2 separate regions of the Homo sapiens genome follow, and region 1 is linked to region 2. The links are contacts of gene promoters, found by promoter capture Hi-C in blood cells and fetal thymus (Javierre and others, 2016). All regions are on one chromosome and are shown on one strand. The core of a region is centred on a gene start or on the middle of the fragment in contact, and the rest is flanking DNA. Distances in the headings are between cores, read along the strand shown. Region 1 has its middle 18 kb from the start of ASGR1. Region 2 holds the start of CLEC10A (C-type lectin domain containing 10A).

The links. Contacts are between HindIII fragments. The CHiCAGO score rates a contact against its expected background, and 5 or more counts as called.
Region 1: a contact is called between a fragment that was not itself captured here and the fragment with the promoter of CLEC10A in region 2, in 2 of 17 cell types (monocytes and M1 macrophages). The highest score is 6.6, in monocytes.

The regions. Positions count from the first base shown.
Region 1 is chr17:7,159,194-7,162,724 of GRCh38, reverse strand. No RefSeq gene overlaps it. Among named protein-coding and RNA genes, the nearest start is that of ASGR1, 18 kb to the left of the region's middle. The HindIII fragment of the contact is 566 bases long and covers 1,239-1,804 here.
Region 2 is chr17:7,078,801-7,082,533 of GRCh38, reverse strand. It overlaps CLEC10A (C-type lectin domain containing 10A), which reads left to right and starts at 2,283. Exons shown (of 9, transcript NM_001330070.2): 1 at 2,283-2,482; 2 at 3,649-3,733. The coding sequence starts at 3,722. The HindIII fragment of the contact is 6,420 bases long and covers 446-3,733 here.

The sequences.
Region 1 (3,531 bases), core at 272-2,771, 81 kb before region 2:
GAACTGAATCTGGTTAGCAGTAACTACCAGCTTATTGGAAATGCAGTGGGAGGGGAACATCCACACAGGCATGCATGCCGTCAGATCCAGAAGGCGGAAGATTTTACAGCCAACTTATGCTTTCTTCAACAACGAAAAAAAATGGTAAGAAACAAAAAAAAGAGGGGCCAGGTGCAGTGGCTCACGCCTGTAATCCTAGTACTTTGGGAGGCTGAGGCAGGGAGATCACTTGAGCTCAGGAGTTCGAGACCAGCCTGGGCAACAACCCTGTCTCTGCAAGAAATACAAAAATTAGTTGGGCGTGGTGGCGTGTGCTTGTAGTCCCAGCTACTCTGGAGGCTGAGGTGGGAGGATCACCTGAGCCAAGAAATGTCAAAGCTGCAGTGAGCCGTGATTGCACCACTGCACTCCAGCCTGGGCAACAGAGTGAGACCCTGTCTAAAAAAAAAAAAAAAAAAAAGCAATAGACTTAGATGAAATATTTGCAATATTTATAACAGTTAATTAATATCCAGACTATAAAGAACCCCTACACAATGACAAGAAAAAAACAACAACAACCCATTGGAGAAATGGGCAAAGAATATTATAGTAAACATTCATGATTTGTATTTTAGAGAGCCCCTTATAATGTGCATACTTCAGGGGGCACCAGTAGCCACAGAACCGAATTCTTCATCTCTCCCCCACCCCCCAGTGTAGCAGGAGGGGGGTGGCATGTGCCATGGGTATCACCCACCTGGCAATCTCTCCCAGAACATTGAGTCTTGAGTGTATGATGCAAATTTGTAGAAATAGTTGGGAGGTCATGTGTAAGAATTTTTTTTTTTTTTTTTTTTGAGATGGAGTTCCACTCTGTCGCCCAGGCTGGAGTGCAGTGGCTCAATCTCGGCTCACTGCAACCTCCGCCTCCCAGGTTCAAGCAATTCTCCTGCCTCAGCCTCCCGAGTGGCTGGGATTACAGGCGCCTGCCACCACGCCTGGCTAATTTTTTGTATTTTTAGTAGAGACACGGTTTCACCGTGTTGGCCAGGCTGGTCTTGAACTCCTGACCTCAGGTGATCCGCCCGCCTTGGCCTCCCAAAGTTCTGGAATTACAGGTGCGAACCACTGGGCCTGGCCCGAATCTTCTTCTTTATTGCTTCAAGTTAACTGTGCTTGGGGGATAAAGGGAGGAGTCTGAATTTGTGGTGAGGCAGATAGGGGGACACTGCAGTACTTTGAAGGAGTTACAAGCTTCTTAGAGGTATTAGAGAGAGGTTCCACACCTAAGGCTGAAGAATGCAGGGTTACAGCAGGACCCGTGTGTGTGTGTGTGTGGGGTGGGGGGGGCGGTGTGTGTCTACTCCAGGCCAGACTGGTCCCAGCTCTGCTCAACAGCTATGTAGAGTGAGTGTGATATTTCTTGGCAATGGGGAAACCAACTGGTTCAAGTGATTCTCCTATAAAACTCAATTGCCTCACTATGAGCCAGAATCCCATAGGAGGTCTGCCTTAGTTTGGGTGTCTCCCAAAAGCAGAGCCTGAGAGAAGGACTTGAGGAAGATAGTTTTCTTGGGAGCTGATCCCAGAAAGCAGGAGTGAAAAAGAGGAGGGAGTGAGACGGGGAAGGAGGCAAGCCCAATCGGGGTGCATTGTCAAGGCTGCTGCACATTTTGGGTGATGGGGCTCACCAGCATCTCCAAGCATACAGAATGGTTGATCTGAAGGAGGGGTGGCTGGAGGATTTACCCACCAGCTTCCATTCCCCGTGGGCATGAACTCCCCAGCAGGTCTGAGCTGTGCTGTATTGGCTGAGCAAGCTTCTATTGGTGCTAGAGAAAGCCCTGGGGCAGAGAGTGTGGCTCATGCTTGAGGAGGGGTATTTTCAGCACAAGGACCTGGTTGAGTTCTGATGGAACTGTCTACTTTTGTTGTGGCTGAAATCAGCGGGTCAAGGGGGTGCAACGTGGGACACCAGAGGTGCCTACTGTAAGACCCCACACCCAATCTCCAGTAAGAATCTGGGAATGCACAATAGCAACCAAACCATAAAACACCCAAGAATGAACTGAAGAAACGTGTGAGATGTGGATGAGAACAACCATAACACTCTAATGGGCCGGGCGCGGTGGCTCACGCCTGTAATCCCAGCACTTTAGAAGGCCGAGGCGGGCGGATCACGAGGTCAGGAGATCGAGACCATCCTGGCTAACACGGTGAAACCCCATCTCTACTAAAAATATTTTAAAAAATAGCCAGGCGTGGTGGCGGGCGCCTGTAGTCCCAGCTACTCGGGAGGCTGAGGCAGGAGAATGGCACGAATCCGGGAGGCGGAGCTTGCAGTGATGGCGCCACTGCACTCCAGCCTGGGCGACAGAGCGAGACTCCATCTCAAAAAAAAAAAACAAAACAAAAAAACAACTATAATGAAGGCCATAAAAATACTTCATATAGTCAACTTGACTATGACGTCTCCATATTGCTATGATGTCAAGTTTCCCTAGATTGAGCTATAAATTCAAGGTTATGCAAATGAAAATTCCTGGGCAATGTATTTTTGCAATTGGACAAAATGAGCCTAAATTCATCTAGAAGACTAAACATGTGAGAGTAGCCAGCAGAAAAAATTTAAAAGAACAATAATAAGGGGACTTGTCCTATCAGATGTTAAAATATATCATAGGTTGAAGGGGGCCTACCCCTCCACACCTGTGAGTATTTCTCCCAAGGTGGAGATGAGAGACTGAGAAAAGAAATAAGACACAGAGACAAAGTATAGAGGAAGAAAAGTGGGCCCAGGGGACTGGCACTCAGCAAGTGAAGACCTGCACCTGCGCTGGTCTCTGAGTTCCCTCAGTATTTATTGATCACTATCTTTACTATCTCGGCGAGGGGAATGCGGTGTGACTATAGGGTGATGGTGGGGAGAGGGTCAGTAGGAAAACACGTGAACAAAAGACTCTGTGTCATAAATAAGTTTAAGGAAAGGTGCTGTGCCTGGATGTGCACGTAGGCTACATTTATATTTAACTTTACATGAACATCTCAGAGCAGTAAAGAGTAACAGAGCAGTACTGCCACCATGATGTCTCGCCTCCAGCCATAAGGCGGTTTTCTCCTATCTCAGAATAGAATGTATGCTCGGTTTTACACCGAGTCATTCCATTCCCAGGGACGTGCAGGAGACAGATGCTTTCCTCTTAACCTCATAGAGGCCTTCCTCTTTCACTACTCCTCCTCAGCACAGACCCTTTACGGGTGTCGGGCTGGGGGATGTAAGGTCTTTCCTTTCCCAGGAGGCCATATCTCAGGCTATCTCCGTGGGGGGAAACCTGGACGATACTCAGGCTTTCTTGGGCAGGGGTCCCTGCAGCCTTCCGCGGTGCATTGTGTCTCTGGTTAATAGAGAGTGGAGAATGGCAATGACTTTCACAAAGCATACAGCCTGCAAACACATTTTTAACAAAGTGCATCCTGCACAGCCCTAAATCCCTTAAACTTTGAGTTTAAGGGATTGTTTTTGTGAGCACAGGGTTGAGACAAGAGTTA
Region 2 (3,733 bases), core at 1,034-3,533:
GAAAGACTTGGAACCAACCCAAATGCCCATCAATGATAGACTGGATAAGGAAATTGTGGCACATATACACCATGGAATACTATGCAGCCATAAAAAAGAATGAGTTCATGTCCTTTGCAGGGACATAGATGAAGCTGGAAACCATCATTCTCAGCAAAGTAACACAGGAACAGAACACCAAACACCGCATGTTCTCACTCATAACCGGGAGCTGAACAATGAGAACACATGGATACAGGGAGGGGAACATCACACACCAGGGTCTGTCAGGGGGTGGGCGGCAAGGGGAGGGAGAGCATTAGGACAAATACCTAATGTATGCGGGCCTTAAAACCTAGGTGATGGGTTGATAGGTGCAGCAAACCACCATGGCACACGTATACCTACGTAACAAACCTGCACATTCTGCACATGTATCCCAGAACTAAAAAAAAAAAAAGAAGCTTCAAACCCACTGAACCAGACTGAAAAAAAAAAGTTAGTGAATGGAGAAATATCATGTTCTTTTCATGGAAGATTCAACAATGTCAAAATGTTGATTATCTCCAAATTAATATGTGAATACACTGCAAGACTGTGGTAGACACACAGAGAGCTACCCAGGTCCCCCTTCTAGGAAGGATGTGGTGACCCACTGTGGGGAGTGTAACCTGCAGACAGCTGCTTCCTGAGGTCACACCCATGTCAGGGCTGACTGCCAGTGACCGAAGGAGCTGGTGCTCTACAGGACCCTGTGGCAGTCCAATGCTGGACAGCTCCCGGGGGTGGCATTGTTTGAACCCAGAGCTCCCTGTTGGTTTGGTTGAAGCTCTCCAAAGTGCTGGGCTTCTCCCTCTGCCCAGCACCATTTCATCCACTTTCCTTTTCGAAGTGCTAATCCCTAATAAATAGCTTGTACCCCAAATTCAGCCTCAACCTTGGCTTCCAAAAACCGAACCTGCGACATATACTAATCAAAATACCGAATACCAAATAAAAACAAAACTGGCAACGACCTGGCCGGGTGCGGTGGCTCGCGCCTGTAATCCCTGCACTTTGGGAGGCTGAGGCGGGCAGATCATGTGAGGTCAGGAGGTCAAGACCAGCCTGGCCAATATGGTGAAACCCCTCTCTACTAAAAATACAAGAATTAGCTGGGTGTGGTGGCGGGACCTGTAATCTCGGCTACTCGGGAGGCTGAGGCAGGAGAATCGCTTAAACCCAGGAGATGCAGTAGCCGAGATTGTGTCACTGCACTCCAGCCTGGGCAACAGAGTGAGACTCTGTCTCAAAAAAATAAATAAATAAATAAAATAAAAAAGAAAAGAAAAAGAAACAACTTAAATTTCTGATTTATTTCTGTCAATAGAGAAATGCTAAATAAATAAATTACGGTGCCTATGATGAAATGAGGTGCAGGTAGATCAAGTACATTTTATAAACTGATGTGGAGAAATGTTCCTGATAGCTTGTTAACTCCAAAAAAAAAAAAAAAAAGCACATAGCAGAACACAACCCCATGTACATACAAAATATAACCTAAAATGTATTTCTTCTCCTTCTCCACCTTGTAAGATACTCAGTTTCCTTCCTACTGAAAGGGATGTGCGCGTGGATTCAGGGCAGCTCCCTTAGGGGTTGAGCAGGGATCATGGGATGAAATGGAATCCTGTTCATGAAGACAGCGCCTGTGCTGAGAGCCAGAGCAGGGTGCCAAACTGTCTCCTTACAAGCTGTGAGTGATCTTGGGCTCTGAGCCTTTAGTCCGTCATCCAAAATGCCTCCCCAGGTGCTTGGGGGGAATGGTTGTGGAAGGTAAATGTCTGGCATAATCCTATCACAGATTACTCAATAAAATTTGCTCTTTTCCTTGGCTTCTCCCGTCCTATTAGGGCCAAGAAGTTCTATTCTCTGGCACCCCCTTCCCTCCTTCCGAGTGGAGTGAGGCGAGCGAGGCCACAGCTGAGCAGCCGAATGACTGGGACCCAGAGGATGCTGATGCCAGGGACTCAGGCCAGGATTGAGCAAGAGAACAGACTGGGCTTCTCTAGGATCAGAGGTGCGATGATGGAGACCCAACAATTCTGGGAAATGTAGAGGCAGGAAGTGAAAGGAAGTGTAGGGTAGAGGAGCAACAGCAGATTGTACCTCTGATCCAGCCCTGCTCCCAGATGGTAAAAATGAGGAAGCTCCGAGAAGAGGAAAGGAAGTAGGCATGGCCTGGAGGAGGAGAACAGAGCTGGCCTCAAACCCAACTCTCCCCACCCACACATGGTCTCTGTGTGTTCTAATCCCTGTTCATTCTCATTTACTGTCTAAAGTTGAGGAGATGGGATGTCCCAGATGATAGGGCTCCTGGGATTTCAGACCCAAGACCAGCAGGACTCCAGTCACCTCTACCCCAGCTCTCCAGGACACAGCGCTCCCAACTCTGAGTGACGTCCCACCTCTGGTCCTTGCAGCACAACCAACGTGGGAATCACACCCTCCAGACCTCCCACAGGTAATGGTGCTGCCGGTGCCGGTGAGACCCAGGGGACAGGGGATGTCAGAGGAAGCAGGGAGAGGGGGACTTTGGGTCTTGGGTGGGACTAAATGAAAATAAATATAAGGCGGCAGTGTGGGGTTTAATTACTACGTGGAGATTTGAGACTCTGTTCCCTTCACTGGATTCTAGATTGGGTTACGGCAGCCACAATCCCCTGTCATAAACTAAGACTCCGGGAGCTGAGGCAGGAGAATCTTGTGAACCCAGGAGGCAGAGGTTGCAGTGAGCCGAGACGGCCTCGTTGCACAACAGCCTGGGCGACAAGAACGAAATTCCATCTCAAAAAATAAATAAATAAAAATAAAAATAAACTAAGACTCAGACTCAGCCTCATTGGTGGCCCATTTCCAGCCTTATCTTCATCTCAGCCCAGCCATGCCCTAATCCCAATACTAACCCCAGCTTCTACATTTTCTTTTTTTTTGAGACTGAGTCTCACTGTGTCGTCCAGGCTGGAGTGCAACGGCACAACCTCGGCTCACTGCCACCTCTGCCTCCTGGGTTCAAGTGATTCTCCTGCCTCAGCCTCCCAAGTAGCTGGGATTACAGGCGCACACCACCACACCCAGCTAATTTTTGTATTTTTAGTAGAGATGGGGTTTCACCATGTTGGCCAGGCCGGTCTCAAACTCCTGACCTAAAGTGATCTGTCTGCTTCGGTCTCCCAAAGTGCTGGGATTTATAGGCGTGAGCCACCGCACCTGTCGCCCCCCACCCAGCTCCTACTTCAACCCCAACCCCAGAATCAACTTGAATTTTAACACCAGCCCAAAGCCAAAATTGAACCTCGACTCTATTCTGTTTCCAAATTCACCACCAAAGTTAACCCCAATTCCATCCATGGCTCCAACGTGCATACTGACCCCAATCCTAGCATGAGATACAACCTCCAGTCCTGCCTGATTAACTGGCCCACTGGGTAGTCCTAGCAATGCGTTTAGCTCCAACGTTACCCTCCAGTTTCACTCCCAAACTCAACTCGACCCCAATTCTAACTCGACTGCAAACCCAGGCTCATTTCCGTCTTAACCCTGGGCTCATTCTCAACCTGAGCCTCATCTCCCAACTCAACGTCAGCCCTGCCCTTGGCTCCAACTTAGTCCCAACCTCCTATTCCCCAGCTCCACCCCAGACTGGGCGCCGGCCCTGCCTCCATTTCAGCTGTGACAACCTCAGAGCCGTGTTGGCCCAAGCATGACAAGGACG